Linked DNA regions of Homo sapiens: all the other regions are linked to region 1. The links are contacts of gene promoters, found by promoter capture Hi-C in blood cells and fetal thymus (Javierre and others, 2016). All regions are on one chromosome and are shown on one strand. The core of a region is centred on a gene start or on the middle of the fragment in contact, and the rest is flanking DNA. Distances in the headings are between cores, read along the strand shown.

Region 1 (5,042 bases), core at 1,687-4,186:
CCAGCCTGGGCGACAGAGCAAGACCTTGTCTAAAAAAAAAAAAAAAAAAAAGTAAATTCTCAGGCCCCATTCCAGACCTACTGAACTTAATCTCTGGAGATAAGTCCAGAAATCTGTTTTAACAAGCCCTCTGTAGATTCTGATGGATATTCAAATTCGAGAACCATTGCTTTAGGCCAGGGATTCTAGTTCTCAGATTTTTTAACATATTAAAATTCCAATGCCCAGGCTGCACCCTAGACCAAGTACATCAGAATATCTGGGGGTGGGCCTAGGAGTCAATTGTCCTTCAAGCTTCCATGTGACTCTAACATAGCGGAGGCAACACTGGTTTCACCTACCTTCTTCCAATTCTGGGATCCACCTCTTCCCAGCCTCAAATCTTGCTCAGGCTTTAGATGTGATAACCTGGAGATTGTTTTCTTGGAGTTCTTCCACAATGGCCTCTGGCTCCTCAGTTCCCCACCATCGCTGATTTGGAGAGAGTGTGTGGCCAGAAGACAAGGCCCAGCAGTTGAATATGAGGTTGAACCTGATGACGGCCAGGGTCCATGAGCTCTGCAGGTGTTAAAGACAGAGTCATCCACATCCACCACTGGCAGGGTCCCCTGCATCTCTTCCCTGAACATTGGTGCCAAGGCTGGGGTGGAAGGCTGTCTCAGGACAGGGTTTGGCTTAGTGCTGGGCTTCCACTGCAACCTCTCTGGGGCAAAGGAAGCTGCCCACATCTCCCCCTTCTCTCCAAGGAAGAGGAACATTGATGTGGATCAAGGACAATACGGCAACCTTGAGAGAACACTACAGCTTTTAAGGAGAGGAGTCAAAGGGCTTTTAAGAGAAATGAATGGAGCAAGGTCATCCCTCTTTGCTGGTTTCTCTCTTGTCTCTCTGTGCTGCCCCCATTGTACACATCTGCTGTGGTGAGAGGGGTGTGTGCACTAAGGGGTTTGCAAGGCCATAGGAGACCTGAGTGTGGGTGTGGGAGGGGAGACAGAGCAGGCAACTGAGCAGCCTCTTGTTTAGGCCTTGAGCTAAAGAGAGAAAGAAGGCTTCCTAGCTCATAGCTGGTCCAGCCTAACTCTTCTGAAGAAAGATCACATGGGACTCTGAGCCAAAAGCATTGAGAAAATCTAGATCCATGCCCCCCAAATTTAAGCATGCATCAGAATCATGCCAGTCTTTGTCAAAACCTGGATTGCTTGGCCGCATCCCCAGGATTTCTGAGTCAGTATATCTGGCATGTAACCCCAGAACTTGCATGGCTAGCAATGTCCCAGGGAATGTGAATGCTGCTGGTCCAGGGACCTCACTTTGAGAACCACTGCTCTAAAGGACTTCCTCACCCCTTCCCACCCTCGATGCACCCTTCCTTAGCCCAGGGTATTTCCCAGGCCACTACAAAAGCTGTTCCTCATTGTGGTAACTTGGTTAATTGTTTGTGATCCTTCCTAAGCTATAAGCTCTCAAAGAATGGATCCAGCCTCTTTCTTCACCACTATATCCCAAGCACCTAACACAATGTCCGGCACATTGTGAGTACTGAATAAATATTTGTTCAATGAACAAGCAGATTTGCCTGGTACATCCCCTCTGTGGAATGAAACCTAGAGCAGAGCTGGAAGCCTGGTCAAGGATGAGGTACTGACCATGTCCCTTACTTTAGACAGGATCAAGGAAAAGGCAGGCCTCACAAGCCTCTGTTCTCTTTGGAAACTGATCCACCAGCAAAGTACTGCAAATAGCCAGGCACATGCAGACCCCCATTTATTTCTTTGGGGTGAAGCTGAGTGATGATCAGATGTCAAGCTTAGGCCATCTTGTCTGAATTCTTCATTTTACAGATAAGAAAACTGAACCATGAAGAGACAAGTGATCTTTTCAAAGCACATTCACACTGATGATTTCTGAAACAGTGCTTTGTAGCAATGCCGTGAGGAAGGTTAGGGGTGTCCCCACTTTATAGAAGACACAAGGGCAGAGGCAGAGTAGGTGTTGGCAGTTGTGAGGAGAGTCACAGTACTCATCATTTGTCAGACATTTTTCACTGTGCCAGGCACTCTGACATTTTTCATGTACAAGTTGACTTCGTGCTTCTCCTCTGAGGTAAGCATTCAATACTCCCATTTAGCAGAGTAGGAACCAAGACTTAGAAAGGTGAGTGATCTGCCCATGTCACAGGTGGAGAGCTGGGATTTGAACTTGGCCCATGTTTGACCATCACGTAAAACAGGAATGGGGCATCAGAAAGGGAAGGTCAAAATGTAACCAACAGACCTATATTCCCTTCATGCTGGAGGTTCCTGGGGCAAAGCCACTCTCTGAGGTTTGGTGGGGAGGGACTTGGGGAGCAGAGAGCAGAGGGACAATGAGCTCCCAGAAGCCGAGGGGCATAGGGTGCCAAAGAGAAGCTGCTGCCTCTGTGAGCACCCATGTCAGTTAGTTTTGAGGAACAGGACTCAGGGTTCCAGTTTAAATCCTTCCATTCACAATCTTTAAGAAGAAGAAAAAAAAGAAGTCTGCCGCTGACCACAAGAGCTCTATGCCCTGCCCCCATCCCACATACACACATCCCACACTTCAATTGCTCCAAACATTCTGGGAACATCTCACTGCCACCCACCTCACCCAACTCAGCTTCACCTGCCCCCAATTCCCTTAAGGCTGAGCTCCCAGGGCCAAGACTCAAGAGGCTCAGAGTGAGCAGAGAAAATCCTCGCAGTTAACTTGGCTTCCAGGAAGTGGCCACTGGTGGGCGTTGTGGCCATTCATGAGCACCAAACCACACAAAAAGAAGAACTTTGTCCCTTTCTTGTCATTTTGAAAGACTGTGAAACTGGAGCCAATTCTCCATCATCACACAGGAAGCTGAGTACTTCCTACTTGGTCAGGATCTTGAAACTTGAATTCATAAAAACCCAGAAAGCCCCAGAAACAAAGACTTCACGGACAAAGTCCCTTGGAACCAGAGTAAGTGTCACTTGTCTTTTCTGTCTTATCTGTTACTGTGGAGGGCAGTGTTGTTCAAAGACATGCATGCAGCTAGGGGCTCCTCAAAGGTAGGGGGAATTCTTTGAGTAGGCTGGGCAAATGTCTAAGTAGCCCATGGATGCATCTCCAAGGCAATTAATACTGTAGCAATACTGAGAATGGTGGATTTATAAAGCTGGGTGCTCAGATGAAATATAGGCTTTTTTGCTAAAAAGGAAGCTTACTTGAAGGATTGGCTTTTGGTTACTGATTAAGAAAGTCAGTCAGTACTAAGGGACAAAAGGTGTTTTCTGTGGAAACCTATTCAATAAGAAATTACTTGGCGGGGCGCAGTGGCTCACGGCTGTAATCCCAGCACTTTGGGAGACCGAGGCAGGTGGATCATGAGGTCAAGAGATGGAGACAATCCTGGCCATATGGTGAAACCCTGTCTCTACTAAAAATAAAAATTAGCCGGGCATGGTGGCGCATGCCTGTAGTCCCAGCTACTCAAGAGGCTGAGGCAGGAGAATCACTCGAATCCGGGAGGTGGAGGTTGCAGTGAGCTGAGATTGCACCACTACACTCCAGCCTGGCGACAGAGCAAGAGTCTGTCTGAAAAAAAAAAAAAAATTGCTTGCCAAATTCCCCCATGTAAAGGAAAACCAAACATGGTGTATGAAGAAATTATAGCAAGAGGGAAATATTAGCTAGAAAAATCTTGGCAGATGCAAGGATGATTTGATACTGAACCTATCTCTTAAGAAGACTAGAACCAAGGATCCTCAAAATTGGCACTGCTATCTTTGGAAGAGGTAGGCTTTCACTCACCCAAAGGCAAGGAGCTGGCCAGGTGATCTTGGGGGGCATCTGTTCTGCTCTACTAACAAAGACACAGGTCAGGATTTTGTTCTGAAGATAGAGGGGCATGGTGGCTCCGTATAGGTATCTACTTCATAGGTGGTCTTGGTGGGTCCCAGATTTCAAAGAAGAGATGGAAACTCCCAAAAGTTTGCACAACCTGGCACCAGGCTATGTGCCACTCACTGATCCTTTAGTTCCCGCACCGAGCAGTGGGACAGTGCTGGACTGTTCAGAATGTGGGGCCTGGGCAGTGATGTGCTGGTAAATGTTCAACAACTGACTCTTCTGAAGAAAAGATCCCTGCTTTATAACATTTGTTGATTTTCATGGTATAAATGCCCCCACTGTGGTCAGTTTCAAGCTACCAACATGCTGAATGTGGAGTGGGGAAGAGATGCACGCAATTGGCATTTATAAACCAGTATAAGCCAGCCAGCGCACCATAGGCCTGGGTGTCTTTCACCATCACAGACTGCTCTATCTCTGCTCAGAGACTTCACCAACTCCCAGGCTGGAGGACACTAGCAGTGGAGGGTCCAGGATCCAGGGCTATAGCTGACCACTGTGCAGTGGCCTTGAGGCAGACTTCTGCAGTAGACTACAGCAGGGCTGGCAGATTAGATGACAACATGGTCCTTTGGTTTCTCTTCTCGGGCCCCACCCCAGATCACCTCCCTTTAGGAACAGCATGCCTTGGAGTGGTTGCCTGGGGCTTAACAAGTTGGGGAAATAACAAATGGGTTGGAGGTAGGGGGTGTATGGAGGTGACTCGGTTTAAAATGCCACCTGACAATGTTGACTCAACTTGCCTTTGCCTTTGCCAAACCTTCCCAGAAACTGGACTCATGGGATCAGGCTTGCACTAGCTGCTCTTTGTGCTTTCCAAGCTATTTGCATACTTCCACTGTTAACCTGCCAGCCCACCGAAAAGTGCTGACTATCAAACCGAACTGTCTGCCCTCATCAGCAATGGCTGTGGCTGCAGAAATTAGAAACTGCCAACACAGCTTTGTTAGTGACCGTTAGCCTGACTCTCTCCAGAAAGAGGGCTGATTGGATCTCTCTGGAGATGGAGGAGTGGGCCAGGGGATGGGTTTGATAAAAAATTAAAGCTCCTCACTTCTCACCCTAATAGAGTATCTCCCTTTCCAGCCAGGGTGCCCTATACCCTCCATGTGCCTTAATTTCCTTTACAATGGCTATTGAAAAAA
Region 2 (5,042 bases), core at 531-3,030, 250 kb after region 1:
CTTTGGCCATCTCTATGGGTGATCGCCAGCCAGTGATTCTGAAATGGGTGGGAGCAGGGGTGGCACTGGATCCACAGTCTTCAGAGCAGTGACTTGTTCAGGTGAATCCTGCTCCCTGCCACCCCTACCTTCAGTGTTACCCTGGGAATTCTGGTACCTGCCACTTGCCAACCACCACAACTAGTTGCAGTTGAGGCCCCACAAATATAGAGCAGAGGTTCATGGCCTCTTGAACTTAATAGGAAACAACCCTCCATTTAGAAGTGACCCAGCCAGATGGGGTGGATGGCACACCAGCCACTTTATGGTACGTTGCATGGCCTTCTGCAAGCTGAGTGTCTTCTCCCTGACGTCCTGTGCCAGGCCACCCAAGCAGACATGGGAGAGAAGCTGAGCTGCACTAGCAACCATCTTGCAGAGTGCCAGGCGGCCATGCTGAGGAAGGACAAGGAGGGGGCTGCCCTGCGTGAAGACCTAGAAAGGTTAGTCACAGTCCACCTACGTAGCTGTCGGTAGTCTTCAGGGAAGGAGTGTTTGGTCTCGTCATTTAGAAAGTCAGTCACTCATATTAGGTTTAGGAAGTCCTTTTGCAAGAAAAGCCACAAACTCAGAAAGTGCTTCTGCTGGAAGCATGCCACAGAGAACCTGGTTGCCTGCCCATCACAACCTATACACGGCTAAAGCACCTTTCTCCTAACTCAATTTTCTTCTCTCTGGCAGTGCATATCATACTTCAGTAACTGCAAGCTTTGGAAAAACTAAAATGAAATAAAAGTTAGATCATAATAATAATGGTAATAGTAGCAGCATGTATTTAAATAATGCTGAAAACGTGGCCGACTCTGTTTTGAATACTTTGCATACATTTACCCATTTAATCCTCCTAACAGTCCTATGAGGAAGGTGTTATCATCTATCCCCATTTTATGGATGAGGAAGATGAGTGTGCCAAGGACCAGGATCAGCCTGTCTTTGTGCAGACTCTGATGCCATATCTGTGGATAGCAGATCACGCTGCCACCCAAGGCCTCCTTGACCCCCTCATTTTCAGGCTTGGGGCCATGTGGAGTTGTGAGCCTAAGTCCACCATGTGGTCATGGGACACAGCTAGTTGAGCCAGGACCTGATTAAGAAAAGATGTAACAGGGAGGAAGACCTGATTTTAAAAAGGTGTAGCAGGGAGGAGGAGTTGCTGGAATCGAATTGCATGTGTGCCACCAGCAAAGATAAGCACACCAAATTGTCCCAAGTCTCTAACTTTTCTATTTATCTATTACCTCTTCCCAACACCTGCCTTCTAGGCCTGGGCTCTGGCTCAGTAGGAGATCCAGGATATCTTTGACATTTGGTAACCTGGACATACATTTTTCATCTTACCCTTCTAGTGTTCAGATCCTACAGGGCACTGGCTGCCCTTAGTTAAGTCATGTTCATATGACAATTTAAACAGAGTCTGAGTTGGTGGCATGAAAACATGATAAACAGTGGTTTTTTGTAAGATCTCAGAGCATTTGTTTCAGTTGCTCAAAGCTGTACAGTCTATTTGCCAACTTATTTTATTCAGTGTGTGTGTGTGGTGTGTGTGTGTGCAAGCACACACATATGCTGCCTGTGTGTGTGGGTGCACCTATAAGGCCATTTTGGTGGACAGGGTCTACTAAACAACTTCCTGGCAACTTTATACTAGATGTGGAAGGTGTAAAGTAATCAGTCTCTCTGCAGAACCCTTTGTTTAATGGAGCTTTTATTATGTCCCACTGGACCATCCTTGGAAAACCACTGCCTTAGGAAATAGCTGCATTAAAAATGGAGTGGGTGGGGTGAGGAAGACAGCGAGATTCAGCCAGCTCCCTCTGCTATAGACTGAGACACCCTGCAGCACCCAAAACGGAATTCCCTGGGCCTCAGGGGGGCTATCAGGTAGAACAGCTGGCAGTGCAGATTAAGACTGAGTGCCTGCTGTGGGCCCAGGGCCATGCCCCATGTGTAGAGTCCCAAGGACGTGTGGAAGACAGGCCCTCCTCTGTGTGGCCACCTCCAGGAAGCTACACCTCTGTCCTGCCTGTCCTGACTCCTTTCTCCTCCTGCCCATCCTCCCCATCACCAGCCCATGAGCCTTGCCTATCAGGCTTCTCTTGCAAGCCCAGCCCCTGTCCAGGAGCCAAGGGGTGCAGAGTTCTATTCACTTAGGGTGCTTCTGGCAACCTGGGGTCAGCCTGCTTTCCCTCCCAGAATGCCCCTTTGTATGTGGGGGTGAGAGGAGAGTCTCAAAAGCTAGGGGACTGCATAAGCTGTGAGCAGATACCAAGGGGCTCCCCCATGGCGGAGGGCAGTAGCACCCCTCATTAGAGTCCTGGGTGAGCTTAGAGCCCTGGGAAAGCTGGAAGTCCTGGCTAATCAAGAAAACTTACCACTCCTCCCCCAGGACCCAGAAGGAACTCGAAAAAGCCACAACAAAAATCCAAGAGTATTACAACAAACTCTGCCAGGAGGTGACAAATCGTGAGAGGAATGACCAGAAGATGCTTGCTGACCTGGATGACCTCAACAGAACCAAGAAGTATCTCGAGGAGCGGCTGATAGAGCTGCTCAGGTGAGTGCTGTGTCAAACCAGCAGCTGGGGTTTTCCCCACACTGGGGTTTTTCTCTAAAGAAATGCAGCTGTTCTTGAAAGCATACTTCAGAAATTTCCCCACTTTCTTGCTGCTGTCTCAGGAGCCCCTCTCTCCTTCTCCATCTCACTTTCCCCAGTACTAGAGTCCCAAACTCCAGCGCCTGCAGGTACCAGGCAGCTGATACAAGTGGAAGCTTGTATCAGGAGGGGACTGTGAGAAACTGAGGACACAGCTGGGCTCTGCTTCTGCCATATGTCTTGGCCTAGAACTGCCAGACCACCTTACTTCTTGAGAGAAGGTGGAAACCTGGATCTTAATGTGAAGTGTCCTGATTTTTTAATGCTGACAAGTCATTCAAAACTTATTTTAACTTTTCCTTATGGAAATTTTCAAATATACAAAAATGGAATCATGTAATACACCTCCAGGTACCTGTCACCCAGCTTCAACAGTGTTCAGCTCAGGGCCAGTCTTGATTCATCTGTAGACCCACCTGCTTACCCACCTTCCCAGATTATTTTGAAGCAAATCCCAGACATATCATTTCATCCATAAATATTTCAATATGTACCTCTCCAAGGTAAGGACTCTTTTATTTTCTATTTTTTGAATTTTTTTTTTTTTTGAGACAGAGTCTCACTCTGTTGCCCAGGCTTGAGTACAGTGGCGTGATCTTGGCTCACTGCAACCTCTTCCTCCTGCATTCAAGCGATTCTTGTGCCTCAGCCACCCAAGTAGCTGGGATTACAGGCACACACCACCACTCCCAGCTAATTTTTATATTTTTAGTAGAAATAGGCTTCACCATGTTGGCCAGGCTGGTTCTGAATTCCTGGCCCCAAATGATTTGCCTGCCTCAGCCTCCCAAGTCCTGGGAGTACAGGCATGAGCCACCATGCCTGGTGCCAGAACCCTCCATTTTAAACAACCACAGTGTCCTTATTACACCTTAAAAAATGAAGTATAATTTCTTAATATCATCAAGTGTCTAGTCAGTTTCAAATTTTTCCGATTGCCTTAGAATATTTTCAGGTCGTTCTAATCAGGATCTAAATTAGATTCATCTATTGCAATTGCTGTGTCTCTTACATCCCTTTTAGTCAATGGGTTTCCCTATCATCTCTCTACTTTTGCCGATTGCATCCCCATGGTGTCATTTAACATGATCATCCATCCCTTGCATTTCCTGTGAGTCCATAGTTAGAACTATTGCAGTGGTTCTCAATCCTGGCTACATATTAGAATCACTAGGAAAGTAATTTAAAAATGCCCATGTCCAGGCCCCACCAAGACTAACCGAATTGGAATTTCTGGGAGTGAGACTCAGACACCAGTGAGCCAGAGCTGAGAACCATCATTCTACTGGCAGCTTGCTTAGACTCAGGTTCAAAATTTTGGTAAGAAGCCTTCATAGAATTGGTTTGTAGTTTGGGGTCTTTCCTTCAAGAGGCACATACAATCTGATTAGCCCTGTTTTTGTGATGTTAGCAGCACCATGGATCAGCAAAGCCTAGATATGCTAATTCATTAAGTGTTAGAAAACAGTGATATTAAAATTATAACCAATTTGAAAGTTTAAAAACTCTGCCTTCTTATCATCAATATACAGAGTTAGAACTCAGGGTATTTGTGACCTGAGGGGTGTGATGGAAAACACCAGCTCCTGGCAGCATTCCACATTCCCAAAGTTTGGGTGGACCAGCCTAGAGAATGAGGCTGCTTCAGAGAATGAGTCTTCCTGCTTCCTGACAATTTCAAGTGTCCTTGAAAAAGCCAGCCAAGCCCATGTTCAAGCTTTTTTATTTAAGGCAAAAGATCTGGGGTTGATTGGGAGTTCCTGGTCAGTGATGGAGCCTGTCTCTCTCAGGACCTGAGTGGCTCGGGTGTCACATTACCGGTGGCTGAGGTGCTGCTAGAGCCACGTTAGCCCTGAGGATGCTAGCTGGGGCTCCATACGAGAAAGAACTAAACTTCACATGTCAGAAACCATCAAGCCTGAACATGCTCATTAGTATCCCTGAGGAAGCCTCTGTTCACATCCTCCCCCTCCAGTGCATCAGGCACATTCTGACACTGCCAGACCTTTCTGGAAAGCCTCACACTTCTTTGAGTCTGGCTTCTTGGAGTGACCTTACCATCTCTCTGAGGGGCAGAGGAGGCTAACATCTGATCAGATTTTCACACTAGGAAATCTTTGATCTTCTCCACTGATTAATTGTTACTTGGATCAACCATAGAAACATAAAGGGCCCCAAGCACATTAAGATTCAGGTGGGAAGTACATTCATGGTCCTTGGGCTTACTGCACGCCGTCGGCATGGCAGCACGTTTTAGCTTAAACTCCCAGTGGTCCCCCAGCACTGTTGTTTAGGTGCCTGAGTGGTGGCTCTCTTTGGTGCTGGCAGCTCTTTGCATTTAACAGTGCCT
Region 3 (5,042 bases), core at 1,899-4,398, 230 kb after region 1:
AACTGTAATGTATATTATAATTAATTGTATCTTAGATTCATCGAAATAAGGCAATCCCTGCCTCTCAATGCCATATTAAATGAGAAAAATACATGTAAAGGCCCAGCCCCTCAAGGACACTCAGTTAACAGAAGCAGGTGCGGTTGTCATTGTTGGAATTGTGATTGTCACTACTATTATTTGCACATACTGGGTATTCTGATCCTGCGCTTACCTATAATGAGCAGTAGGATTATAGTGAAGAACCTGAAATGTGGCTAGAATAAAGGTAAAGCTTTCTGGAAGTCAGTATTCAGGGACTGAATTGATTCATCCACACAGCAAACATTTGTTGTCCAGCTACTATATGCAAATTACTAGCCCTGGGTGGTGGACAGACAAGGGTGAACAAGAAATGTGCCCAGTCAACAAGCATTGTAAAGTATCTGTGAGCTCTCAGGACATTTCAACACTCCCTGACTTGGAGTTATATCTCATGGATACTTACATACCCTTTTATGTTTCAGAGGTGCTTTGTATCACTGACCACTTGCTCCTCATGCTTCCTGGATTATTTCTGCTTCTCTGTCTGAGTTTAGTCACTATCTGGTTACATGTTCCTATTTGTTGTCTTAAAGATGCTGTGACAGAACTAAGCAAAGAATTTCAGGAAGCAGGGGAACCCATCACGGATGACAGCACCAGCTTGCATAAATTTTCTTATAAACTTGAGTATCTCCTGCAAGTAAGTGATGCCTGTAATGTGTTGATTTTTGCACTGGTATCTCTTTTCTCCCTCTTGGGTGACTCATCAGCATTCAAGATATGGTTCAGAAAGCCCAAGGAGCCAGTAAGCCCTCGTGGTTAGATTGAAGGTCAGAGCAGTCCCCAGTGCCAGCTCAATCCTCCAAGTGTGATCCTTTGGGGAATTGCAATGTTGCCCCTTAGGATGGCTTTGAGAATCAAGAACATCCTTTAGAGATTTAGGTCATTGTAAGGTAGGTCAGAAGGTTACTGTATGGCAAAGATCTTAACTTTGGGACAGTTACATACCCCTTTGGGAGTTTAGTGAAAGCTATAGAGTCTTCCCAAAAAGACATTCGTGTATGTATACACACAATCACGCATTTTTGCAGGCAGATTCTAAGAGTGTGTGGACCCTCTAAAGATTATCCATGGGCTTCTGTTTTAGAGCTTTGCTACTCAATGTGCAGTCCATAGACCAGCAGCATCAGCATCCTCTGGGAGCTTATTTGTAGTATATTCTTGGCTCCCACCCCAACCTACTGAATCAGAATCTCTGGGGTCAGCCCAGGATATTTTCTTTTAACATATTGATGGTATAACTCTTATCCCTGCTTAGCCCAAAAAGTGCTGATGTAAAAAACACTGCAGATGTGGAAAAATGCATGCAACTAAAATAGGCAGGAAAGAAATGCTGTAGAAGTTATTTTAGGGTAGTGGTATTAGGTGTTAAATTTTTTTCTATTTTTGTGTTTTGTTTTATCTAGATATCCTAATAACATACGCATATCTTGCTTCTGTAATCAGAAAAAAAATGCTATAAAATGTTATAGAAAGATATACCTGTGTCATTGTGAACACCATTATTTTGCAACGTCACATCCCACCAAAGCACGTAGTATGCGGGCCCACTAGAGGAAAGGCCCCTAACGTGCTGAAGGGCTTGCCTCTCTCATGACATTTCAGCTGGTTCTTTAACATTGTAAAAATGTTTTTGAGCCTTTCTTTTTTTCAATTAAGCCCATTTTGGTTTTGGGTTTGAAATGACTCAGAGCTGACATTTATTTAAATTTATTGTAGGTGTATTAAAACGATATTGAAACTGAAGTGTTGAGTAACTGGGATAAAAGGTCATTATCTTATTTCCCTAAGTCGAAGCATAGTTAACACTCTTCATATTGCCCTTAAGACTCTTTTCTTTTTCTTTTTTTTTTTTTCTTTGAGACAGAGTTTCACTCTTGTTGCCCAGGCTGGAGTGCAGTGGTGCAACCTTGGCTCACTGCTACCTCTGCCTCCTGGGTTCAAGTGATTCTCCTGCCTCAGCCTCTTGAGTAGCTGGGATCACAGGCGCCCGCCACCACACCCAGCTAATTTTTGTATTTTTAGTAGAGATGGGGTTTCACCATGTTGGCCAGGCTGGTCTTGGACCCCTGACCTCAGGTGATCCACCCACCTCAGCCTCCCAAAGTGCTGGATTACCAGCGTGAGCCACCGCACATGGCCAAGACTCTTTTCTTGTATTTCTTTCTCATCCGTTAATAACACCTTCGGTGGTTTTCCACCCAGCTGTATGAACAGGGTATTAACACACCTTGATTTGCCAATAAATAAAAATAATGCCAATAAAGGGCCTCACCCAGTGCTGGCACCTAAGAAGCTATTGTTATTATTTATCATTTAAATGCCGGAATGAAGAGCAGTGGGTTTGGACCTCCTCTCCCTTTCCCTTTCCCTACCCAGTTTGATCAGAAAGAGAAGGCCACCCTCCTGGGCAACAAGAAGGACTACTGGGATTACTTCTGTGCCTGCCTGGCCAAGGTGAAAGGAGCCAATGATGGGATCCGCTTTGTCAAGTCTATCTCAGAGGTAAGCTGAGCAAGCAGCCAACAACTTCATGTCGTCCTTTTGCCTGCTTAAAGCAGCTCTTGCAGAGACCTTTGCTGCAGACAGCTAAATAAGGAAGTGGGAGTTTATGGGTGGTAAAGAAATCTAGTCCAGGTATACGCAATGCCCATTGTTGCAGTGGCTCAAGGTTGGGGAAACCACTTCAGTGAGTGTTTATCAAGGGGAAGAATGCTGAGTCCTGAATGTACCTTAGGCCACAACCCGCATGTTACTTAACAGGGTGGCCTATTCACATACATTGTAGTCTGCTAATGGCAGCCCTTGAGATGTAAAGCATAGGATGACTCCATCTTTTTAAAAAACTCATTTTCTGAGATAAAATTCTTTAGAGTTTGCTATGCTGCTTTCCCTACACTTTGCCCAGGAAACTTAGATTTGAAATAAGAATGATGTGGGATCTCAAGAGACATTTCTTAAAACAGTGATGTGCCAACTTTCTACTTTAAATTCTGCGCCCCTCAAGAGCAAAATGCCATGGCTTTGCTGTTTTACAAAACTCCAGAACAGGCCGGGCGCGGTGGCTCACGCCTGTAATCCCAGCACTTTGGGAGGCCGAGGCGGGCAGATCACGAGGTCAGGAGATCGAGACCATCCTGGCTAACACAGTGAAACCCCGTCTCTACTAAAAAACACACAAAAAAATTAGCCAGGCGTGGTGGCGGGCGCCTGTAGTCCCAGCTACGCGGGAGGCTGAGGCAGGAGAATGGCGTGAACCCGGGAGGCGGAGCTTGCAGTGAGCCGAGATCGCGCCACTGCACTCCAGCCTGGGCGACAGAGCGAGACTCCGTCTCAAAAAAAAAAAAAAAACTCCAGAACAACAAACACACACACATACTTCACATACACACTCACACTCTCCTTTCTGTTTATTTTCCACCCTCAACCCCCAGAGAATCTTTCTTCTCTCTCCTCAGCCTATTCCATCCAGGAGTGCAGAACTTTGCATATCAGGGAGCAGGTAAACCCCTTGATTTGAGACAGGAGGTTTGTACATTTCTTCTTTCTTTTCAGTAAGTGTGAAGTCAGTTTAAAGTCAACACACCTGCTGCTTGGCTGGCTGCCCACAAATACCACAGCCTAAGGTATTCTGGGAAGGGCTCCTCACCAAACACGCCAGCTGGAGCTAAATGACTTTCTTCTTATAGAGAATGATGGTGTTAGATATGCTGACATCAATGGCTGGACATTTCCCACCATTTGCACTCTCTGACATCTGAGACGATGAGGAAGGATCCTGGCTCTAAAGGGCTGGTTCTGCGAGTTTCTTTAATGTCCATGTTAGTGTGGATGAGTCTTGTGAGGTCTGGTGGGATACTTGGGTCCATGAAGTAGAGCAGTATTTTAATTTTAGTGCATCATAAATGTGGAAGAGGTTCTCTTTGTCACTCTCCTCTCTTCATTCCTCAGCCGCTGCATCAGAGCAACTAAAGCCTTTAACTTTATGACTTTGGACAGTTGAAGTCTGGAAATAAATTTAGTTTTAGTCCGCATTCCCCAGGATTATGAAATGCTTGCTAAAACACATCTACTTTTTGGCTAGTTTCTTCTTCTTTTCTCATAATGCAAACAGATCTTTAGACAGTCTGAAGCCATGAAAATTGACTTTCTAGAAGCAAAAAACATTCCTTGCTTGCATGAATGTTGGTGTTTTAGTGGCTGGCATAGGCTCTGCTTCCCATAGGGTCCAGTTTCATCTCTGTTGAAGACTGCTCTCTGGGGCATCATTGGTTGGAATGGCTTGGAACATCCCTAGGCTAAGTGAGTTGCTGGTTACTTGGTTAATTTTAATAATCAAGTAGCCATCTGGGTCTTTAACTGAGAGGGCAAGAGTTAATGGATAAGAAGCATTTGTAGGTTCCCTCAGACCCCTTTGAGGTAGGCGGTAGCTATTTAGGCTAAAATAGGTGAAGGTTCTAAGAAACCATTTCTGGAGATTCAGTATGGGCTCAGCTTGGACTGTGTTTCACTGTGATGAGGGTGTAGCTCGGCATCGGGCTCTTGGCACAATGACCTGGTTTAAAGCAGAATCAGCTCTCCTGTACCCTGCAGATTTCCTGTCCTTTGCTGCCATTGTATTGCTTCTCTGGATAGTGTATGTGGGTTCTGATTAGAAGCTAAAAAAAATTAAGGAATTAGTTAATGAAAGTGGATCCATAATCTCAAAACATAAAAAGGCCATGCAGCATTTTGATTTGCAGTACAAAGGAACTATTGTTCCCTTCCCCCTAAAAATACCTTTTAAAATAAATAGTTCCCTTTATATATATATATATATATATATATATATATATATATATATATATATATATATATATTTAATTCAGTTAATGGGCCTGATTAAAAGTATAGCCTCAAATGTTTGCCATTAAAAAAGTTTTGATGTTCTAAAGGCTGGTATAATGGTAAGTTTGCCA
Region 4 (5,042 bases), core at 1,446-3,945, 210 kb after region 1:
ACAGTGTGCTGGGTGACAGAAGACCCCTCAGGAGCCCCCAGCTCTACCCCAGCCTCCACCACTCTCCACCACTTATTAGGTGGGTGGACCAGGACAGTCATTTAACCTCTCTGAGCTTCATCTCCTCATCTTCAAAGTATGATAATGAATACTAATTATGTCACCAAGTGGCTGCAAGTTTTAAATATAATGCTGAATGGGTTTTTGTTGTTGTTTTTTGTTTTTTTGCTGGGGGGCTAGGGACTGGCATATAGGTCCTCAATAAATATTAGGTTTGTTTTCCTTTTCTTTTCAAACTCCTTTTGGGTTTAAGTTTCTGTGGTATTATGATGTCTGTCTATCTGTCTGTCTATCTATCTATCTATCTATCTATCTATCTATCTATCTATCTATCTATCTTGGTTTTCTTCCATGGTTCCTGGCTCATAACTCCCATAGCCCTTGTTACAGTCTTTTGTTATGTTAGGTATGTTAGGCTTCAGGAAACCGAATCTCTCTGGCCTTCTGCCCTCCTTTCACCTGCTTTAAGGCAGGACTCTAATCTTCCCCCGCCTTTCTTTCTTTTTTTTTTTCTTTAAGATGGAGTTTTGCTCTTGTTGCCCAGGCTGGAGTGCAATGGCTCGATCTTGGCTCACCGCAACCTCCGCCTCCCGGGTTCAAGCGATTCTCCTGCCTCAGCCTCCCTAGAAGCTGGGATTATAGGCATGTGCCACCACGCCCGGCTAATTTTGTATTTTTAATAGAGATGGGGTTTCTCCATGTTGGTCAGGCTGGTCTCAAACTCCCGACCTCAGGTGATCCGCCCACCTCGGCCTCCCAAGGCGTGAGCTGGGATTACAGGCGTGAGCCACCGTGCCCAGCCGCTTCCCCCGCCTTTCTGATTATAGGTCTTAAGACCCTCCCAAGAGAGGGTCCTCCCCTATACCCTGGGGGAAGCAATGCTGACATCACGAAGCTTCCATAAAAGCCCAAGAGGACTGGATTCGGGGAGCTTCGGGATAGCTGAACACGTGGAGGTTACTGAAGAGTGGTGCATCCAGGGAAGGCATGGAAGCCCCACGCCCCTTCCTCCACACCTCATCCTACGTGTCTCTTTATCTGCATCCATTGCAGTATCCTTTATAATAGACCAGTAAATGTGTTTCTCTGAGTTCTATGAACCACTTTAGCAAATTAGCTGAACCCAAAGAGGGTGTCGTGGGAACTCAACTTGAAGCCAGTCATTCCAAAATTCTGGAGGCCTAGACTTACAACTGGTGTTTAAAGGTGAGGAGGCAGTCTTGGGGACTGAGCCCTCCACTTGTGGGATCTGATACTCCAGGTAGATAGTGTCGGAATTGAATTGGAGGACACCCAGGTGCGGTCCACTGCTCAGTGTGTGGGGAAAACCCCACACACATCTGGTCACCAAATTATTCTCCTGTGTTGATGATTGCTGTTGTGTAAGAGTAGAGGAAAAATACGGTTTGAGGGAGGTTTTTTTTTCCCCACACAGTTTCAAACAAGGATATTGGACCAGATGACCAACATTAAAATCTCTCTCATCCTTAATATTGCATGAAGCTGTTCAGACAGTGGTTGGAGCAATGATTTCTCTTAGACCACTACATTGATTACTTTTCTCTTTGTCATCTTCTCACTCCCCCCGTTTTCTTTCTGTTCTCCTTTCTGTTAACAAGAGTGGAAATCACTTCTATTCATGTACCTCCTCCCAACCCCACCCCCAAACTGACTACTCCATCCATCCAACTCACTGTTTTAGCTACATCTAATTTATAAAATTAGATGGCTAATGAGATGTCATAGCCTAAAATCGACTAAGAAATTGATTTTCTTTCTGTATTATTGTACCCAGACAACACCCTGCTTCCTCAGTTTAGAATGTTGGGCCACCACGGTTCCTGACTGGATACCACGAGCTAGGTCCTACAAGGGAGAGAGCTGTTTCTGGCTTAAATGATGAGAACTAGGGCAGAGAGTAAAGGATAGCCAGCCACAGCTAAGGAATGCAGTCAGTTAGAAGCCAAAGTCCCCGTGTAGTGTTCCTCTTTTCTACTGTGCCCATAGCGGACACTGATTGAATGCATTTTGTTCTATCGTATTCAGTTCCACAGTGCTTTGCAACACCCATCTTATAAATAGAAGTTGGGCTGAGGATGGGGCCAAAGTTAGGGGTGGTAGTTCATAAACACGTAGTTTTTGAGCACTAATTTTAAGTAAGACCCTGATATTAAGAAATAAGGGGGATTAAAAGATGGGAAATTAGGCCCACCAATACATGTTTTTCTATTTCCCAATATATCAAAATATTATCATTTTAACATGCAATCACTAAAAATTAATGAGCTAGTTAACATTCTTCGGACTCTTTGGTACCTAGGTGTATTTCACACTTACAGCACGTGCACGATTCAACTCGAACTAGCTACCTTTGGAGTGCTCCTTAGCCACACAAGAACAGCGTTGTTGTCAAGATGCCAGACCTTTGATTTGTGGCCCTCCGGGGTTGCAGGCGTTAACCTGGGGCCAGCATGGGTCGCGGGTGGGACAGTCGGTCCGGGGACTGGGCGGTGGGAGCACTTAAACCCCGCCCTGCGGAGTCGCCGGGAGTTGTAGTCGGAGCCCCGGGAGTCCGATGGGAGTTGCAGGCCTCAGCCCCGGGGAGCACGCCGGGAGTTGTAGTCCGCCCCCGCCACCCTCTTGGTGTGCGCGTCATGGCCGTCAGCACCGCGTTCCCGTCCTCTTCCGCTTGGCCCCAGAAAGTTTCGGTTCTGCCCGGCGGTGGACCCACGAGCGCGTAAGTGCCGCGGAAGACCGGCTGGACTCTGGGGGCACCTGGGTCGCTCACGATCCCTGAGGCGAGAGCTTCGCTCGGGGCGCGGCTTGTCACCTGTTGCCCTTACAGTCCCCGCCCATCCCAGGTCTCCCTCAGACCCTGCCCGAGCGCCCCCGTCCTTGCCCAGCGGGCCGGGAAGCACCTCGGGCAGGTGGAAGCCGGCCCAGGCACCCAGCCTGCCTCTGTTGGTCGGTTAGAAAGACAGACCCCAAACACCAGTTCCAAGACCCCGGAGGGCGGAGGGCCCGCAAAGGAAAGGAGCCCACCATGCGGCGTCTCAGAACAAGCCTGAATGTCTTAGCGCAGGATGGGGCAGGCCCCGGAGTTCCTGCCTGCGTGGTCTTTAGGAAGTTTAGTCTCTGGCCCAGTTGGGCCGGGACAGCCCAGACCTTCACTTTGCAAGACTCCGCTGGTGCTCGGATCTCTGCCCTCTTCCCAGGAGGGGAAGAAGCTTCTTTCTTCCTGGCCCATCCTTTGGCCAAGACCTATTCACTATCCACTGCCCCTTGTGCCCATGCGCAGGGTCTCGAGCTAGCCCCCAGGGGTCTTTTCCCGAAACACCTGTTGTCTCTGGTGTGGCGGCACTGCACTGGACTGGAGTCCGTGCTGTTGAAACCTGGCGGGGGTGGGGCGGGGAGGGGGGAGGATGGCGGGATTTTATTTTTTGTAAGAAAAGCACATGTGGTTGACACGTTAACCGCGTGGCCCCCTGTTAAAGCACATGTATTCTCTGATGTCCCTGTCACTCTTCACTGTTCCCATTGGGTGTCCTCTCCAGAAAAAAAAATAGAACACTTGTTGAAACTGCCTGTGTTGGCCAGAGCCTCTCAGCCCCTCTGCTTGTCTTACCACAGCAGTTTCCTTTCCCGACAGAGAAATGGGTCAGGGGCTTTTGCGGGGCAGAGGATCCAGGGCTTAATCTGCTCACTGGTTCTCCTGCCCGTGCAGGCCTTGTGGTCTCAGGCTGCAAGCTTAATTCCCCTGCCATCTGCCTAATGCGGCTGGAGGGTGTTGGGGGCTGGTGTGGGGGAGGGGTGGGGAGCTGGAGCTATCATGCCAAGGTTTTCTGCTTTCAGTAGTTCCCACCTTCTGAAGTGGACCCCTGTTGAGTGAGCTCCACTTGACCCTCCCTTCTGTGACAACCACTGTTCTGAAAGCATTGAATGCCCCATACTAGTTGTGCACCGTGGTTATTATCACCCTGAAAATAAGAGCTAATTGTCACAGTGATGGATCTCAGCCTCCTTTGATTAATAGGATCTCTCCTAAAGGCTCTTGCTTTAGGAAATAGAGTTTATCTGTTTATGTTCAAAGTGACTATCTTTGTGTAGCACTTCATTTACTTTTTAAATTGTTTTTAATATTTTATTAGAAAAATAAACATACAGAATCACTGAAAGGATTGTATGGTGAATATCCGTATACTCAATTCTTAATATTTTACTTTGATTTTTTTTTTTTTTTGCAGTTACTTTAGAGATTGGTAACAGTCTCAGGCAGTGATCCTTTAGCTGTTGTTCCGATGACCTTTGCCCCTTGGGGCTGGGTTTGGAGCACCAGTATAATTTCAGGAGCCAAGTTTTTAACCTGGTCCTTTTTGAGGGGGATGGCCCCCATAGATGTTTGTGATGAGAGGAATCACCCATAACAGAGCAAGATCAGAGCAGCTGGTAGCTTTGACCCATATTGGTCACCAAGGCTATGGACTGCTGACTCAAGAATACAAAGTAGGTACGCAAGAAATGGCAGCCCCCTCACCCCCACCCACCCTGCTTCCCTTTAGGGGAGATGTTTAGCTGATAGGTAACTTTTGTTTACTGAAGATTCCAAAGACACAGCTTTGGTGACTCAAGACTAGAATGTCTTTAAACATGAGGCAGAGGAAGTGTGTTGTCTAGCTGTGGTCTTATGGTGGAAATCACTGGTAGGCACCTAGATTTAGGAACCACGTTCACTGCAAGCAGCCCTAGGCAGCAGGTAAGGGTCATTAACTGGTGCCTGTGATTACAGAGGCAACTTGTGAGCACAGATGAGTCCATTATGGTCAGGGCAACATCTGCTCACGTCATGACTGCTATGTTCTTGTCTTAGTCAAAAGATAAACAGTATTTTGTTTGTGAGCTCAATGCCAGTTTCAAGAAAATAAGAAGTCTTTATTGGTATAAGAGCCTCTATCTGAGCAATTAAATAAATCAATAGGGTGGGA
Region 5 (5,042 bases), core at 1,723-4,222, 190 kb after region 1:
TGCTTCTTGGGGAGCCATGCCCTGGGGCACACTTTACCTTCTTTGTCCCAGGCTGCTTCTCTATAAATATTAACCTTTCTTTCCTAGTCTACACTCTCAGAGAGTAGTAGAAAGAGAGTAGGGTGTAGTAGTAGAGAGATTGCTTATCTCTCTCTGTGGCGATGGCTATGCTTCACCTTGCCTTCTAGTTCATGGTACGCATCCCTGCCTCTCACACTGGCCCATTGCTTCACACCCAAGGGCATAAATAAAAGCCACTCTCTAAACTTTGCCATGCCACAAAGACCTGGGCCCAATCTGTGAACCTGATTTGGCTCTGGCGTGGGGATTTGGAAAAGCTTCCCATGCGATTCTGACATGCACCTTCATTAGGTACATTTGGCTGCAACTTTTTTAAAAAATGAGGAGTCCAGAGTCTTCTACAGTCCCTTGAGCAGGGATTTGCACACAGAAGACACTCAATATCTTGTTATTGAATAAAGTAGATACCAATGTAGCCCTCTGGCCAACCTAGAGAGAGCTTGTAAGGCATTTCCCCTTCAGTTCCAGATGCAACTTCAATGATCTATTTGCCAATGGGGCAGTAGATCTGGAGGAGTTTATCGGTCTAGGGAAGAGCCAGGGCCTAGTTTTAATAATGAGGCCAGTAGCACCTGCTGGACAGGGCTGGGCGGCATACCAGTGAAGGGAAGGGGCTCCCATGGACCTACCTGCCAGCCTACAGGTGGGGCCACTACTCACCACCGATGGGAGAAACAGCATAAGGAAGAGATAATGAGGTAGTTTGTGGTATCAGAGCTAAGCCTATGGGCTTCTAGTTGGCCTAATCTTTCAAACACAGTTTCACACTGATTCTTAACATTTTGTTCAACTTTTACTCAGAGGGCAGGCTGAGCCAGGGAGCAAAAAGGCAAAGGACTCCTACTCACATACCCACTTAGCAAAACCAAAGCACCTTGGGCTTTGAACCCACCCTTCTTAGAAGGCAGGTTTGGGGGTTGAGGCCCCTTGAGAAGCTCACTTCACCCTCTCCCCATGCCATCCCATTCCTACCCATCCCAAGATGCTTCTCTTGTATTTCTTTCAGCACATCCAGCCATCTCCCTGGGAGCGTTTCATATCTGACTCTTTATACTTCCAGTGATGTTTTGGCATCCCTAATAGACTGGCTCCCAAGGCAGTCTTTAATCAGGAGTCTTCCCCTAATCTAGCTCCTCAAGAACCCAAGGGAAGAGGCACAAAGAGAAGTATGAATAGGAAGATAGAAGGGTAACCCAGTCAGAGAGGGAGTGGCAGATGACACTGCTGAAAAGGAGTTTCCAGAGAGTTGCACACCATGAGCCACGCTGTCTGTCCCTGACCACAACCTCCACTGGCCACCACCTCCTGGGCTTCCCCTCCCTCCACCCACAGAAACCATTGCTCAATCTCAACTGGACTCTTGCAGGCCTATCTCTCCCTCCAAACAGAGATGTCCTGGACACAGAGCTGCAGACCTCTAACCACTCCTGGAACATAAAAAAACCCACGGTGGTTCTACAGCATTTACACCTCCAGTTTCCCTCAGACAGAATCCAGAAGAGAAGAACCTCGCTGATCTCTGAGCGGAGCATGTCTCCAAGCTCAGGCCAGCCCCAGAACTCCAATGGCCTCAACTGGAGTGGAAATCCCTCAAAGGCACAAACCCAGTTCCTACCATCTCCCTCAGTGCCTGGCAATGTTTGTGGTTGGTTGAGTGAGTTAACAGGAGACCATCTTTTGGCCTTTTTTCTACCTCTGTTTTCTCTTACTATACTTGCCTACATCTCATCTTCTGGTCAACACCAGGTACTCACCCCATGAGCTTCTTGTGAACTTGTCTGGGGCCCACCGGCCTAAACATCATCTTTTTTGTTTGGAATTAAGCTTTGTTGAACTTTTCACAGGTTTCATTTATGCAAATGCCTGTGATGGGACAAAAAGGTCTGCAAACATGGAAACCTGGTCTAAAGATGTCCAAAGTAAACTGTCTGTGGAGTCGAATGACATTTGAGCCCTGGACCTAAACTCCAAATCCAAGCTCTTTCCCACTGTGACCTTGGGCCTCTCAAGGCTCAGTTTCCTCACCTATAAACTGTAGAGAAGCCAATAACAGACTCATCCACACTATGAGGCTGTGCATAAGGTCATGTATGTAAAACTACTTGCTTTGTTGATCATTCTGTCCCAGATAAGTATGAATTATTATGCATCATTTCATTAAACAAGAAAGCTTCACTGTGTTAATATGCACAAGTAAAAGATTAGCATGTATTGTCTTACCTTTGGCTGGCTGTCTTAGTCAGTTCGGGCTGCTATGACAAATACCATAAACTGAGTGGCAAACACTCAGCCCATAGCATTGATTATGTCCCCTCATTTCTACCAAGAGCATATAGGTTCTTAAAAGTCTTCTACTTATGGAAGATCTGGGTTAGGGATTCAGGATTGGAGAACAAAGTGTGGAAAAAGGCCTGTGTGAGTCAGGGTGGTGGGAAACTGGCTCAATTTAGACCTTAGGTGAAATTGTCCAGGAGACCAAGTCTATCTTGAATGCTCTGTGACTCAATTTCCTATCCCCATTTCTCCCCTGGCTTGACACCCAAGTCTTCTGTCTCCAAGTCCAAGGCTTTTATTTTCTGTATTATAAAATATTTGGGTCTGAACAGGGACCGTTCAGAAATACAGTCCTACAATCAGAAGGTATGATACTATTATTGGCTGGAAATTTCAGGCATGCTGAAAACTTGGTGGGAGATACTTGGGGGTTTCAGGGAAGATTGGGAAGGGTAAGAGGGATTATCCTAACTCTTCACCAACTTATTCTGAGCACAGAGCTTTGCTCTCTACCTTAAGGCCAGCCCAGATCATAGATGTGGGGTTGCTGCAACCGTCCCCCGACATGTCCACTGGCCCCTCCACAAAAGGAAGTGAGACCAGAGGGACCAAAGAAAAACAAAGGAAGCCTGGTTCCTTGACTTTGACCATGTCAGAAAATCAGCGTTGAGCATCATTCATGGTTAGAAAGAAGAACTGGACAGTTGGATGGTTGCAGGAGTGAGAAGGGAGAGAAGGGTGTGAGACAATGGCATGCAAACCTCCAGGCAACCCCTGGCTACTTTTTTGGAGTATTTTCCCAATGCAAGAGCAGAGCAAAGCCCATGTTGTGGAGAGTGAGACCACAAAGATGAATTGGCCCCACTCTCAAGTTGGCCACCCTCTAGTCATACCCATTTGAAGAAAAGTTCCCATAGGATTACTCCAGGCCCAAGAAATTCCTGTTCCTTTTCCCAGACCACCTTGCTGACCTCTCTTGACTGAAAGAAAATGACCTGGCTTATTGTCCACACAACTGGGGATGCTCACTTTAAATGTATTATTAAAGCTCTTCCAAGGCACTTTGCAATGAACTGTGGGAATGTGGGGTAGGAGGTACCCACCTTTACCTGCTCCCACCCTCAACTTTGGTTGCAATTGGTTCAACGATATGCCAATATACAGTTTCCCAATAGTAAGGTTAAATTGGGGGGCGGGGGTGGGGGAGGAAGAACCACTGGGCCCTGCTAATTTATCAAAGAATCTTCTGTTTACTTCAAAATTAGAGAAAAAAATACAAATCAGGCCCACTTTTCTGGCTGGGTCTTTAGCAAGTCACTTCCCCTCCTTTGAAGCTTATTTCTTCATCTTAACTAGAGAGGTTTGCACTCAGATCTATTCTTATGCTTAAAAACAAAGTCTATAGGTCTAAAATTTCATGGCTTACATTTTGATGAAGTTCTTCAGGGGATACAAATCTGTAGCTTAGGGCAGGTTACAGGTTGAATTGTGTCATCCTCTGCCCCCAGATTCATATGTTCAACTCCTAACCCACAGTCTCCCTGAATAACCCACAGTCTCCCTGAATATGACCTTATTTGGAAATAGGATTATTGCAGATCATATAAAATGAGATTATGCTGAGGTAAGGTGAGTTTATAATTCAATATGGCTGGTGTCCTTGCAAAAAGGGTAAATTTGGGCACAGACACAGGAGAATGTCATGTGAAGACTAGAGTTATGCTGCCACAAGCCAAAAAACACCAAAGACTGCCAGCAAGCGACCAGAAGCAAGGAGAAAGGCATGGAGCAGATTCTCCCTTACAGCCCCAGAAGGAATGAACCTGACACCTAGATCTCAGACTTCCAGTCTCCAGAACTGTGAGACAGTATATTTCTCTCGTTCGAGCCACCCAGTCATGGAACTTGGTTAATGGCAGCCGGAGCAAATTAATACAGGACACAAATTTCAGTGTGTGGGAGCGGAATCCCAGTGCACCTCCAAACCTTCCATGATGTTCCAGTGTCTCCTGCACCTACACAGAAGGCTACACCTAACTGAAGACATGCAGAGGAGATTGGAAGCTAGTGTTTACTGAGACCTACTATGTATTAGGTCCATACATTTTCACGTCTCACAGCTACCTTACGAGGTTTCTGTTTTCTCCAGTTTGACTAAGGAGGATACAAGGGACCAGAATAGGTCACACTCCAACATCCAAGGCTACATGTCAGATCACACGCGGAGCTTAAAAAATACTAATGTTGGCCGGGCGCAGTGGCTCATGCCTGTAATCCCAGCACTTTGGGAGGCCGAGGCAGGTAGATCATGAAGTCAAGAGATCGAGACCATCCTGGTCAACATGGTGAAACCCCGTCTCTACTAAAAATACAAAAATTAATTGGGCGTGGTGGTGCACGCCTGTAGTCCCAGCTACTCGGGAGGCTGAGGCGGAGGTTGCAATGAGCTGAGATTGCGCCACTGCACTACAGCCTGGCAACAGAGCAAGACTCTGTCTCAAAAAACAAAAACAAGCAAACAAAAAAAACACTAATGTCTGAGTTTCTACCCCAAAGGTTCTGATGCAATTGTTCTAGGGTGCAACCTGGCCTCAGGATGTTTTTAAAGTCTCCTGGTGGTTCTAATGTACAGCCATGTTTGACAATCACTGATCTAGTGTCTTTATTTATTCAATCATTCACTCAAT
Region 6 (5,042 bases), core at 1,647-4,146, 170 kb before region 1:
AAGGATGGAATATTCATGAAGTTTCCTGAAAAAGGTAAAGATTTCTCAGAGCTGTGGTGCCACCCATTTTTACACCAAACATGAGTGTTCCAGGAAATGGAATGGCCCTGGTGGGTGTGTGATTTGGTATGTTATTGAGCATATAATGAGGTTCCAGGCAAAACCTAGGAGAAACTCAGCACCATATTGGATCCAGTTGCTTTTAACCAGCCTTGGCTCACACCCTGGTTCTCAGGTTCTTATTGACCCCTGGATTATGCAGCTATTTCAACAGTTTCCTTTTTTACTAGTCAAACTGCTGCCTGGAATCTTCCATTCTCCTGTGACCACCCTTATTATTCCTGTCTCAATACTACCATCTTGTTTAACACAGTTAGGGGGTGCCTGTGGCCTGTAGAATAAAAACTACACTTGACAGCTTGACATAGACATTGCAAACAGTAAGCATTCAATAAATGCTGAATTAACACGTGAATGGGGACTGTGGAGTGATAAATAGCTAATGCACTCGGGTACTGTGCTGGGGAGACTCCTTGTTCCCCTTCACCATATGCTTTGCTTCTGCTCCAGTGGAGGGCAGAGCAGAGGGGAGGGCTAGAAGGAGTACCTCCCAATCTTCTTGTCACTCCATACTGCCCACTGCTCCTGATCTCCTGCAGGAGGAATGCATGCACGCAGCCAGACACACACACCCACACTCACACCAGTGTCTGTCTGTCTGTCTATCTATCTATCTATCTATCTATCTATCTATCTATCTATCTATCTATCTATCTATCATCTATGTACCCTATCCATCTATCTACCTATCTATCATCTATCTCAAGTCAGCTGTGCTACTTTAGGCACCTGGACTATACCTTGCTTTATTTCACCTCTGCACATTTGCATAAGAGTTCCTACTCCTATGCTCCACTCAGTAGCTTCTAACTAATCCTTATTCAACTGCAGCAATGCTCTCTAGGATTTTTTCCTCCAGACCCCCATCCTTGGATTGGATAACTCATCCTCATCTGGCTCTCAGAGCCTTATCCCGACACTGTTCACAGTAACATAGGCATTAAAAAGAAATTTTTTTCTTTTTAACCTTGGTAAGGTTTTCCTTTTAATGAAAAGCAGCCCCCAAATCATTTCTTTTCTAGCAAAGAGCAACCTGTAAAATTGGGCTGCAGACATAGATAAGCAATCTGGAAGCTTGCAAGAGTGAATGCCGGCAGCTGTGCCAATAGGAAAAGACTATCTGGGGGCCAGGCATGTTCAACATGGATTCTTCATCTTCCCTTTTCTTTGTCAACCACGTGTACAGTAAGGAACAGACAACATGGCACCAGCCAGGTATAGACCCCGTCTGCGTAATAAAAGATTAGGATGGGATGGCCAGCTTCTTTGTATGCTATGTAAACATCACACCTGGTCTGACCAATCTCTCGGGTCCTAAGTAAATCAGACACCACTTCCTCAAGCTCGTCTATAAAATGCCTTGCATTTCACCACAAAACAGGAAGATCCACTCAGGTGCCCCTCTCTCTGTGCAGGCAAGAGAGCTATTCTTTTTTCTCTTTCTTTTGCCTATTAAACCTCTGCTCTTAAACTCACTTCTTGTGTGCCTGAGTCCTTGATTCCCTTGGCGTGAGACCACAAACCTCAGGTATTCACCCCAGACAATGATGCCACTTCAACAGTACTTTTCAAACTTTGCCTTTTTGCTTGCTTTTCTCTCTAAATAGTGAATTTCATAAGGACAGGGACTCTCTTTCATGGCATGAGTTGGCATCTGGCACATAGCTGGCCCTCCTTCAATGTTTGCTGAATCAATGAATGAATGCTGAATGTTGAGCTGCAGATGGTTAGTGCACAACTGAACTAGAGGGGAAGTAAGAACCCCCTTAGGGGTTTCTTTTGTTTCTGTTTCTGCTTGAAGGAGGACAGAAGCTCTGCCCAGTTTCCTCTCCTTCTCAGAGGACGGCTGGAGGAAACACTTCCCATCCCTCTCTTACCCCTGGCCATCCCTGGCCTCCACAGTAGGAGAGTGGCGGTGGGGTTTATTGGTTGCTCTCCTTTGCATAGGCACAGCTGAGGATGAGGGCCCCGGAAGTAGACTGAGGCGCGTGGTATGAAATCCTACTTGTTTCCTGTGCCTAAGCCACCCCTGCCCATGGGGCTTTGCCAGAACTTCTCATTGGGTTTTGCTTACCTAGCTCTTAACACGTTAATTCCTACTTGCTCTTCCTTGAGTGTAAGCTTCTGTCAGAGTCCAGAAGGAAGGGGTGGGGAATTGGCCTGCTGCCCTCACTCTCTCAGTTTGCTTTGAGCTATGGAGTCTACATCTGACCAGAATTATTGGTAGCAGGTTAATCCACCCTAAAAGGCTTTCAAAAGGAGCTACAGAAGACCAAGCAAATTGAACACAGTGCCATAAAGTTGTGAGGCCCTTTCCATCCATTACTTACAAAATCATGCTGTTGATTTCATACCCATGAGCCCCTGGCTGACTCTGGTCGGCCAGTGCTTCTCTCTCACTGCAGAGAGTGAGCTGGATTGCCCGCTATGTCTAAGTGCACTGTTTGGGGGAGCACATCCTAATCTGAAGAAGAAATAGCCATTATTAGCAAATTATTAAAGTGGCTAACTGTTACCAGAGCTTTTATGTGCCAGGCACTGTGTTAAGCCCTCAACATGCAATTTCTCATTTATCCTCTGAACAAACCTGTAAGGCAGATACTATTATTAGCCCCAATTACAGATTAGAAAGCTGAGGCTTGGAAACAGTAAGCAACTTGCATAGTAATTCAAATCTAGGAAACACTGATGCCAAAGTTCAAATTATATTAATATTTATTATTTATAATATGCCAGACTCACACTGTCTCCTACAGTAGCCATTGGCCACATTTAAATTAAATCATGGAAAACATTCAGTTCCTCAGTCACACTGGCCACATTTCACCCTGGCCTGGTGGCTACCATTTTGGATGATGCAGATACAAAGCATTCCCGTCATTACAAAAAAATTATATTGGATCTCCCTGGTCTAGATAATTTATACCCCAACACAACCCTGTCAGGTTGCTATTAGTAATGAAGCAGCATCATTTGTATGGGGTAATACACAAGGTTCGTTGCCTCATGCCAAGGAAATCAAGGATGCTAACACATGAGCAGTGAGTTTAAGAGCGGAAGTGTAATAGGCAAAAGAGAAAAGGTCTCTCGTGCAGGAGGGGGTTCCGAGTGGATCTCCCAGTTTCACGGTAAAATGCATGGGGTTTTATAGACTAACTTGAGGAGGCGGTGTCTGATTTACACAGGGCCCAAAAGACTGGTTGGACCAGGTATGCCATTTACATAGCACGGGAAGAAGCTGGCCATCTCACCCTAATCTTTTATTATGCAGAAGGGTTCTCTACCTGGCCCGTGCCATGTTGCCTGTTCCTTTACTGTACACTTGGTTGACAAAGAAAAGGGAAGATGGAGAATCCATGTTGAACATGCCTGGCCCCCAGATAGCCTTTTCCTATTGGCACAGCTGCCGGCATTCACCCGTGCAAGCTTCCAGCTTGCTTATCTATGTCTGCAGCTCAATTTTACAGGCTTCTCTTTGTTAGCAAACAAATGATTTTGGGGCTGCTTTTTGTTAAAAGGCAAATCTTACCGAGGACTCTCTGACCCTCACTAACCACCTAAATAATTTCTTTTTAGCTCCTGTATCAGTAACACCCCAAATTACTACTGGAAATCCTTTTAGATCCTGAGAGCCAGAGACGTTAAGTCACTTGCCCAAGCTCCCACAGCCCCAAGGCTGGAACTCGAGTCAGTCTGACTTTCAAGTCCCTGCCCTCTTCTCTGCTGGGCTCTGCTTTTTGGCACAGGAAGATTGAGTTAGCCAATCAACAGAGTCCTTATTTGATTATATGTCAGGAAACCATTAGGATTCTCCTAAAAAGGATTTTTGAATAGTCTTTGGTAATGGCAGTAAACCTAAGTAGAGGAATTTTAAAGTGAACATAGACAATATTGAAATTCTCCCATTAGTTTCTTATTTTTAATCTTAATTACATTTTATTATATTCAGCGGTATGCAGTTTCAAAAGGAGGAATTGTCTTGACTCAAAACCAAAAAGATTAAGTTATCAGATATCTGCTCTTCAGTAAATAGTAGGAGGTGTTTGTGTGTGTGTACATGTGTTTAAACCATATGCCAGGATGTATAAGAGTTGACAATTTAAATCTAAATTCTAATTCTCTGCAGAATTATCATTGCCTGATCAGGGCTGGCATGAGTTCCCAGTTCTTCAGGAATAATGCTTTCATGGAAAGAGTTAAGAAGGATGGCTCACTGCAGGGATAAGGAAATGGGGGGAGAAGAATCCTTTAGCCACATAAGCAAAATCTATATTTATTTGAGAAACATCTCAGACAGGCCCTTTTCTATACAAGAGACTTCTTCTCTATTGAATTTGAAGTTGCCAAGCTCAGCATGGGCGCCAGACATCCCACTTCTGTTTACTTTTCACTTGGAAAGGAAGGGTGAAAACATAACCCAAAACCAAAAATGAAAGTGAAATACTTGGAGCCTCAAATACAGATCTTTGGTATTGCCAATGAAGTCTAGATTCACATGCTTTAAAAAAACCAGCTTGGGGAATGTTCTGTTATGAAAGTTGAGACTCTTCCTGGTGCACATGCCACCCCAGGCCAGGCAAAGTCTTGCTCAGACAACAGCCCTTGCTGTCAGTCCAACAGGCTTTAGGCAGTATTTCTCAGACTTGGCTACACTTAGAATCACCTGGGGAGCTTCTACAGTGGGGAACCACAGGGCAGCAATGCAGGCAGATCGAATCAGAACTATTTGAGGTTGGATTTAACCTCACTATTTGTAAAACTCCCTGAGTGACTCCAATATGTTGGCTTTTGTGAATTTATTAGCACACAGGTGCTGATCGTGAAGGGAGTCACGAGTGCTCCTACTTTCCCTACTCAAAGGCTCATCGCTGGCGTGCCACTGGGAAGCACCATCAAAACATGCCGCTGTTGGAGCCCACTCC

What was found. The method cuts DNA at HindIII sites, captures the fragments that hold promoters and counts their contacts. A CHiCAGO score of 5 or more calls a contact.
Region 2: a fragment that was not itself captured here is called in contact with the fragment with the promoter of CCR1 in region 1 in 2 of 17 cell types (neutrophils and naive B cells); the score reaches 6.7 in neutrophils.
Region 3: a contact is called between a fragment that was not itself captured here and the fragment with the promoter of CCR1 in region 1, in 1 of 17 cell types (neutrophils). The highest score is 8.4, in neutrophils.
Region 4: a contact is called between the fragment with the promoter of FYCO1 here and the fragment with the promoter of CCR1 in region 1, in 3 of 17 cell types (neutrophils, monocytes and total CD8 T cells). The highest score is 16.8, in neutrophils.
Region 5: a contact is called between a fragment that was not itself captured here and the fragment with the promoter of CCR1 in region 1, in 1 of 17 cell types (monocytes). The highest score is 6.0, in monocytes.
Region 6: a contact is called between a fragment that was not itself captured here and the fragment with the promoter of CCR1 in region 1, in 5 of 17 cell types (M1 macrophages, M0 macrophages, megakaryocytes and 2 more). The highest score is 11.2, in M1 macrophages.

Annotation. Positions count from the first base shown.
Region 1 is chr3:46,206,207-46,211,248 of GRCh38, reverse strand. It overlaps CCR1 (C-C motif chemokine receptor 1), which reads left to right and starts at 2,936. Exons shown (of 2, transcript NM_001295.3): 1 at 2,936-2,967. It also overlaps a transcript of CCR3 not described here. The HindIII fragment of the contact is 1,401 bases long and covers 1,809-3,209 here.
Region 2 is chr3:45,959,776-45,964,817 of GRCh38, reverse strand. FYCO1 (FYVE and coiled-coil domain autophagy adaptor 1) reads left to right here. Exons shown (of 18, transcript NM_024513.4): 10 at 364-482; 11 at 2,426-2,593. Among named protein-coding and RNA genes, the nearest start is that of CXCR6, 19 kb to the right of the region's middle. RefSeq lists an enhancer at 2,671-2,860. The HindIII fragment of the contact is 2,061 bases long and covers 750-2,810 here.
Region 3 is chr3:45,977,252-45,982,293 of GRCh38, reverse strand. FYCO1 (FYVE and coiled-coil domain autophagy adaptor 1) reads left to right here. Exons shown (of 18, transcript NM_024513.4): 3 at 618-724; 4 at 2,464-2,589. Among named protein-coding and RNA genes, the nearest start is that of FYCO1, 16 kb to the left of the region's middle. The HindIII fragment of the contact is 5,743 bases long and covers 277-5,042 here.
Region 4 is chr3:45,993,477-45,998,518 of GRCh38, reverse strand. It overlaps FYCO1 (FYVE and coiled-coil domain autophagy adaptor 1), which reads left to right and starts at 2,695. Exons shown (of 18, transcript NM_024513.4): 1 at 2,695-2,797. LOC105377063 (a long non-coding RNA gene) reads right to left here and starts at 2,616. Exons shown (of 3, transcript XR_940799.3): 1 at 2,430-2,616. RefSeq lists enhancers at 2,667-2,826, 2,847-2,896, 2,397-2,896, 4,942-5,042. The HindIII fragment of the contact is 2,332 bases long and covers 958-3,289 here.
Region 5 is chr3:46,014,245-46,019,286 of GRCh38, reverse strand. It overlaps XCR1 (X-C motif chemokine receptor 1), which reads left to right. Exons shown (of 2, transcript NM_001024644.2): 2 at 1-2,280. Among named protein-coding and RNA genes, the nearest start is that of XCR1, 11 kb to the left of the region's middle. The HindIII fragment of the contact is 1,438 bases long and covers 2,254-3,691 here.
Region 6 is chr3:46,380,593-46,385,634 of GRCh38, reverse strand. The region is part of intron 2 of CCR5AS (CCR5 antisense RNA); the gene reads left to right. Among named protein-coding and RNA genes, the nearest start is that of CCR5, 12 kb to the right of the region's middle. RefSeq lists an enhancer at 4,907-5,042. The HindIII fragment of the contact is 1,305 bases long and covers 2,244-3,548 here.